Regions from separate parts of the Homo sapiens genome. Here region 2 is linked to region 1. Evidence: promoter capture Hi-C in 16 types of primary human blood cells and fetal thymus (Javierre and others, 2016). All regions are on one chromosome and are shown on one strand. Each heading gives the region's core, a stretch centred on a gene start or on the middle of the fragment in contact. The rest is flanking DNA. Distances are from core to core; before and after follow the strand shown.

What was found. Contacts are between HindIII fragments. The CHiCAGO score rates a contact against its expected background, and 5 or more counts as called.
Region 2: a fragment that was not itself captured here is called in contact with the fragment with the promoter of SERPINB1 in region 1 in 3 of 17 cell types (megakaryocytes, total CD8 T cells and activated CD4 T cells); the score reaches 6.8 in megakaryocytes.

The regions. Positions count from the first base shown.
Region 1 is chr6:2,839,936-2,843,745 of GRCh38, reverse strand. It overlaps SERPINB1 (serpin family B member 1), which reads left to right and starts at 1,883. Exons shown (of 7, transcript NM_030666.4): 1 at 1,883-1,934; 2 at 3,152-3,327. The coding sequence starts at 3,160. RefSeq lists a silencer at 1,939-1,988. The HindIII fragment of the contact is 1,424 bases long and covers 1,655-3,078 here.
Region 2 is chr6:2,768,680-2,772,489 of GRCh38, reverse strand. It overlaps WRNIP1 (WRN helicase interacting protein 1), which reads right to left. Exons shown (of 7, transcript NM_020135.3): 2 at 3,608-3,799; 3 at 2,129-2,370. It also overlaps a transcript of MYLK4 not described here. Among named protein-coding and RNA genes, the nearest start is that of WRNIP1, 5.2 kb to the right of the region's middle. The HindIII fragment of the contact is 356 bases long and covers 1,894-2,249 here.

The sequences.
Region 1 (3,810 bases), core at 634-3,133:
AAAACGAAGTTTATAATCAAGAGGGAAGCAGAGCTTAAAGTTTTGGAAAATTCTCAGCCTGGCCATGTAAAGAATGAAAAGGCATGTTTGGGAGGGAACACCAAGAGTGCTGCCAGGTTCACATTTGATAATGAGATGAGTATGTGTAGAAGGAAGCCAGATGCTATTTATCAAGACAATGGAAGAATGAACCCAAAGGCATTTCTGAGGTTACTGGTTCTGGATTCTCATCCCTGTCCCAGAGTGCCAGGACCCTGAGGGCAGAATAGTTTTAAGGGAGGACTCAGGACACCATGGAACCTTGGGGCTTGCTGCCTAGGGCTGCCTCAAGTCTCTGCCCCCCCACCCCCCACATTCTGGTGCAGCACTCTTTGGCCACCATCCCACGTGTGGCTTATGCAGGCCCTTGTCAGGCCACCCTTCCTGTAAGCCTTGGCAGAGTCCACGTGATGCTAACTCTGCAGGTGCACAGAGTGCATGAACTGTGGAGACACAGCCACCTCCACCTAGATTTTGAAGGATGTGTTGGGGACCCTGGGGGCCCAGTCTGAGAATTGTCACTGAGGTGAGGCTGCTGCAGAAAACCCTCACTAGGGCAATGTTTAGTGGAGCAGTGGGATTGGGGCCACTGCAGAGAGCCCCAAATAGAGTAATATCTAGTGGAGCTGTGGGAACAGGGCTGTCCCTGAGAACCCAGAACTGTCCAGCCACCAGCATGCAAGTCTATCCTGGGAGAGCCTAGACCTCAACCTGTGAGAGCTGCTGCATGGGTTGCACCTGGCAAATCCATGGGAGTGGATCCCCTGGACACTAGGGGACCCAGTCTCCACCCCCCTGTGCTCGGAATGGGGGACACAGCATCAAAGAAGATTATTCTGAAGCCCCAAGATTTAATGCTGTTTGCCTTGTTGGGTTTGGACTTACTTGGGACCAGATACTCCTTTCTTCTTGCCTGCTTCTCCCTTTGGGAATGGGAATGTACGTCCTATGCCTGTCTCATCACTGTATTTTGAAGGCCTGTAACCTATTTGATTTCACGGGCTCATAGCTGGAGGGGAATTTCACTTAGGATGAATTGTACTTTGAATCTTATGCCTTTCTAATTTAGAAGATATTTAGGTGAGACTTTGGACTTACATTTTAAAGTTGATACTGGAACTTTGGAGGCCACTGGGATACAATGCATGCATTTTGCATGTGAGAGGGGTATGAATTTGGAGGGCAGGGGCAGAATGCTATGCTTTGAATGTCTGTGTTCCCTGCAAAATTCATGCTGAAACAATCCTCAATGCAATACTAACAGGTGGTGCCTTTAGGAGGTGACTGGATTATGAGGGCACCTTCCTCATGAATGGGATTGGCCCCTTATACGAGAGACTTCACATGAGATTTGGCCCCTTTTGCCCTTCCACTTTCCACCATTGAGGACGCAGCAGCAAGCTGTCATCTTGGAAACAGAGAGCAGGTGTTTGGAACTGGTTCTGTTTCATCTGATTCTGGGGGCCCCTCTTTTTCCCTGTGCAAGATCCCCAAATTTGCTTCCTTCTCTCAAAGAAAGCTCCCAATATAGATGGGACTCAAAGGGAGTCATTTGCCCTCTAAGAGGTGTCACAATATGTCGTCTCAGTCATTCACACCTTAGTAAGAAAAAGCTTTTCAGGTCCTTGCCAGAGATTCGGGGAAAGGCTTTGAACTGAGAAAGAAGCCGCGCCCCTGAGGAGGGCGCTGCCCGGAAGCCACGCTCACTTCTGCTTGCACTTAGGCGACCTCGGGAGCTCGGACTCCTACGCAGTCACCGGGAAGGGCCGCCGCCCCGCCCGCGGCTGCTGGCCCGGGTGACGCTTCCGCCTGCTATAAGAGCAGCGGCCCTCGGTGCCTCCTTCCTGACCTCGCACCCAGCTCGGAGCCCGGAGCGTGCCTCGGCGGCCTGTCGGGTAAGGCCGGGCCTCGGAGCGGTGGCGCGGGGGCGGGCGCGGGGAGAGGCCAGGCTCCCTCGCTCAGCTTCCAGCCCGGCACCCCCCACCCCCCAGGCTCAGGCCCCTCAGACCCGCAGCTCCCTGCGCTCGCCCTCCCCGCCAGCTTCGCGCCCCCATCCCTTCCGGGCGCCCCGACGGAGACAGACGACCTCTGATCCCCCGCCCCCGCCTGGGTACAGGCCGGGCCAGCCCGCGAGGGAGGGAGGGAGGGAGGACGACAGATGCAGGCGGAAGGCAAGACTGAAACCTGAGATCAGAATGTTGTCCCTTCTCCCTGAATTCCCTTCCTCCCAGAGCTGTTTGTGACGGTTTCCAGGCAGCCCAGGGCCAGGCCGCGGCTCCTATCTGCAGCTGCAGGGAGAGAGAGGAGGAACCCCGTGCGATTCTAGAGACGATTTCACAACAAGGAGAAATCAGCTTTGTGCTTACATGCCGAGCAGCCAGCACGGTTCTTCTTTGCCTGTCCTCGGGGGAAATCAGGGCTCTGAGAGTGGAGATCGAGATGGGCTAGTGGGTGGCGGATGGGACGCTGCACGGCCAGACCCTGGACTGTGGTGGGTTTCCAAACTGGCACATCCTACACCGGCTCTGAGACTGTGGGCACTGGACCTCATACCTTTTGAACCTCAAAAATAAGGAAGAATTATATTATTATAATAATTACAGTGATACCTTTGCTGGAGTTTTAATGCATAGTAGGTAGCTGAGTCTCTGATAGAAGGCTCTTAGTTCAGGTGAAGGTAGGCAATGGATTCATTGCCCAATGAATCAGAGACTTGAATCAAAGGCTCAGAAGCACGTGCGCTCCCACACATAGGTTGGGAAGACCCAGGGCTGGGTGGGCCCTCCCACCCCACTAAAGCTGGGGTAGCTGGGGCCTGCCTTACCCCCGCCCCACCCCCAGACTCACCTGTCTGCAAGGTCAGAGCCCTTTAGGGCACCCTGGGTGCCCTAAAATCCCCTATAACTGCTGAGTCCTTGGCCAGAATGGTCCCACATTTGTGGGCCTGGGAAAGTGTTCTTGCCCTGCTGGAATAAAAAAGCGGGGAGAAAGTACAAGATCCAGGATGCCTCAGGGCGGTTGGCAGAAATTGAGGAAGCTTCTGGAGAAATAGTGCTGCCTAATCTGCTGGCGTGGGCAGTGGGCACCATGAGGACCCTGTTCTGTGTTGCAGTTTTCACCATGGAGCAGCTGAGCTCAGCAAACACCCGCTTCGCCTTGGACCTGTTCCTGGCGTTGAGTGAGAACAATCCGGCTGGAAACATCTTCATCTCTCCCTTCAGCATTTCATCTGCTATGGCCATGGTTTTTCTGGGGACCAGAGGTAACACGGCAGCACAGCTGTCCAAGGTCAGCAGAAACAAAAAAAAGGGTCTGCTTTCCTCCCATCTCCCTACGAATGGACAGTCTGCATGGAAAGGTTGTGCCTTTGAGCTCTTACCTTGTGTTTTCAGAACTGTATTTTTATGAGATCAGACTTTCAGAAAAGTCACACTTGTATGCAGGCTTCCATTCATCATCAGGTTTTTCCTAAGTACCTACCACGTACCAGGAACTGTTTTTCGTATTGCTGAGGAGACAGCAGTGAGCAAAGCTGACAAAAATCCCTGCAGGGCGAGGCTTCTGTTCCAGTGGATGAATCTGACAGCTTTCCTGAAAGGCATACTACATCCTCCTGAGCTAGCATCTTCCAGTTTTTGCTTTGCATATGATGATATGCAACTCATAAATATTGCCTGTTATATAACACTACTTTCAAGCATAATGAGAGGAATAAGACATAGGGAATGCATTATAGTGGAGATAGTGGCATTGCTTTTTTGCAAGGAAAAG
Region 2 (3,810 bases), core at 822-3,321, 71 kb after region 1:
TTTATTCATTTCCAAACCATTCACAAAGCACATAATGTGTGCCAGGCACTGTGCTGGGGATATGAACAGGGACAAGCTCCTGTCCTCACAGTCTTCCCAGGAAAGCGGGGGACACAAGATAGCAAATATAATTGGGATCAAGTCTAAGCAAGCGGTAGTGGAAATAGTAAATCATTTACTGGATATGGGAAGTTTTCTCTGAAAAGCAATTTTAGCAGATAAACAATCTCTAGCTCATTGTTATATCAGTTTCAATAACTAAATCTTAATTATTTCACTTGATCTTCTCAAACTTTAATGTGCCTGCAAATCACCTGAGGATTTTTAATAATAAAATATAGAAATTCTTCTCACAAGGATGAGCTCCTTGGCTGCCGCCTTTCTCATTTCCTTTAAATTCCTGCACGGCAGTGACTGGGGAGAGGTGAAAAAACCTGAGGGTATCTGAGTAACAACTGATTATTATTGACTTCATGTCATCAATATTAATTATTGATTTCATGTTCTATTTCATGAACTGATGACATGAAATCAATAAAAATCACCCCAGACAAGTACACATGCAGAATATTAAGTTGCAGATACATTACGATAACCAGTACACAGAGCAAAGAACACACAGAAACATGAAACATGTTAGGATTTCCCCCCTTTTCTTTCAATTTGTCTTTACCATGTGGTTCTATGCGTCTGTAATGAGAATTCTGTTACGGGAAACCTACACATGAGTATCCCACATCTGAAGTGCCTGGGACCAGAAGTGGTCTGAATTTCCTATTTTTTTGATTTTAGAATATTTGCATTATATACTTACCAGATGAGCACCCAAAATCCAGAAATCTGAAGTGCTCCAATAAGCATTTCCTTTCACAGCATCATGAAGGTGCTCAAAAAGCTTTAGATTTGGGAGCATTTTGGATTTCAGATTTGGGATACTCAACCTGTACTACATATGAGGAGCTGGCAGCCCCCTTAGGCTCTGACAAATGCCCACCACATAAAGCACTTCTGAGTATGAGTCCATGTGGCTGATACCACAGGTTCCACACACTGCTTGTGGCCACAGATGTAATGGCTATCCCCATCACAACGGTATTCCAAAACAAGGCCACTCTGTCCTACCCAGTGGTCCACGGGCCAAATGTTTCAATGCTTTCATTAGACACAGCAGAATTCTCCCTCCATCTCAGACAGGAGCAAATGGGGCCAGACACATAGGGAGAGCCTGGTGAAACCTAAACCCTGAGCCTAAACTATGCCTTGTACTTTAATCCTCACAGAAAAGTGGCTCCAGAACTTGGCCTCAGGGCAGGCACGAGCAGCTGCAGAGTCCACAGCAGGAGGAGGTGGGCAATAGCCTCTCATCACACCAGATTATGTTCCATGGCAGTATTTCAGCCAACGTATGAACAAATACCATCTGAAGAATATGTTCTAATATTAAAAAAAAGGAAAACCCCTGACCCAAGAAATCAAATTATCTATGATATACACTTGGTGCATTAACGAGCTCATGTGGTACTCATGATGCAGAAATAGGTCACTAAAAGGATAGGGACAGCCTATAATGTCATATTCAGTTAACATTCCTTTACTTTCATGAAACTGAGTTTCAACTACACAAAAAGGATTACATAATTTTAAGGTTACAAGTTAATTTTTACTTGATTTTTTTTTTTTAACAAAATGCTAAACTGCAGGTTAAAAAGAAATTGAAACATGAGTACAATGCTCAAAAGAGTTGTATGGTAAGTCTAGAAAGTATTTATCTATCTATTTGTTCTATTCAATGAGGGACATAAAGCCTTTCAAATCATCAATAAGGCTTCCCATAGAAGCCTAAGCACAAAAGCAAACACCCAAGAACCAAAACAACAAAGCAAAGTTAAAGCTTGAAGAATTATAGAAACACATATTAGAGGCTGGAAAATGCATCTTCAAGTGTGCAGGGATAACTTTGTTAGGTATAATCGAACATTTCCCTCCTCTTTTATTTTCATTACGGGCGGATCAACATTTCTTCTCTGTCCCCACCCTCTCCTCACTGACGCCCGGCCCTTTCTGGCCCCCTGCCAGGAGACTCTCTGGGAGGTGTGTGCCCCCAGGACGCTGCACACTGTCAACTTACTCTGAGCTGCTGTTGCTGCTGTGGCTCAGAGGGTCAGTGGGACGGCTAGAGTCTAGGACGTGGATTCCCAGGGAGTTGATCGCTCGCATTAAAATAGTCACCATTGCCTCTACTGGAAGCTTCTCAAGAACAATCACTCGACAGCGGCTCAGAAGAGCAGCGTTGACCTGGAAGGAAGGGTTTTCAGTGGTTGCCCCAATCAGAGTGATCGTCCCACATTCCACGTGAGGAAGGAAAGTGTCCTAATCATGGGAGGAAAACAGAAAAAAGTGATTCCAGTCAACAGCCACCTGCAGAATCCTATGTAAGTTGGCTATCCCTTCCTTCCTTTTCCTCATTTTTATCTTTCGAGTTCAGGAATAGCAGCAGCCTTATATTCACTGAATATAGATGCAATATTTGGGGGAGTACAACTCTTGCTTTTAAGTCTGAAACACATCTTCTGGAATGCCCGTCCAAGCCTGATCTCTTGCTGGTAGACTAATAGCTTTAAGTAGAATTCTAGCTTAGTTTCAACATAAATGATTTCTTTACTCAGAAAACCATCTTCTACCAAAGGCTGAACTGGCACATAGCTTATATGTAACAGCTATTTATTTATAGACAAGAACACACAAAAACATTAACACTTCCAGAATCTTCTTCCACAGCAAGCACTCAATCATATTATTATTATTCCTATTATGCTGTTTTATGGGGAAAAAATACTAAGATGAGTCAGTGGTCCAATATGAAACCTAGAATGCTAACGCCTCGTCAGAACTTTAAAAGGGTCTTTTTATTCAAAAAGGTTCAAAAAAGGCTCAGTAGAGTTTTGTGAAATATTCTATGTATGATTAAAAAGTTACAAAAAAAAATTTTTTAAAGTTATGCCTAAAAATTTAATTTTTTTTTATTTAGAGTATAGCTCTCAGATCTCAGCCCAATAAAATTTTAATGTTTATTTTTTTTTAAATCCCTAAGTGGCTTTGTTTATAAAAATAGCTTGTGTCCTTTTATTTCAGAAACCCATTTAAATAAACAGTAATCATTAGCTCTTCCAACATTCACCTTGAAGACAGAGCCTGGAGTTACAGAAAATACCGATTGTTTAATTTTCAAAATAAAAATACTGTTAAAGTAATTTTTAAAAACCCATTAAAATAATGACCTTAAAATCATTATTTTACTGTTCACAATGACTCCTAGTATTTAGATTAAAAATTCCTAAAACTGGAAATTTGATTCAAAGGTGCTTTTCTGATACGTATAGCTCAGGGATATGCCAACCATTTCATTTATCAGATAGAGAAAGCATTTTCTTGTTATCAAAAAACACTAAGAAATGTATGGAGAAATAGGCTTGAAGGAGATGGGTTCACAAGCCTACGCTTCTTTGTAAACAAAGCTCGTAAGTCTCTAGCGTTTGTATAGTGATCTCACACACTTTATATTGTTTGATGTTCACAACGACCAAAAGGTAGAAGGAAGTTAATATACCTGCTGAGATTTATTGAACCGATGAATCTCATCAATAAAAAGGATGGTTTTCCTTTTGAAAAAGCTCTTTTCATTTTGAGCTTGTTTTATGACATCTCGCACATCATTTGTCTTGGCATTTGTTGCAGATAATGTCACAAACCTTATGCTATGTTTCTTGCTGTTGCTGGCTATGATGTGAGCCAGAGTGGTCTAGAAAAGAT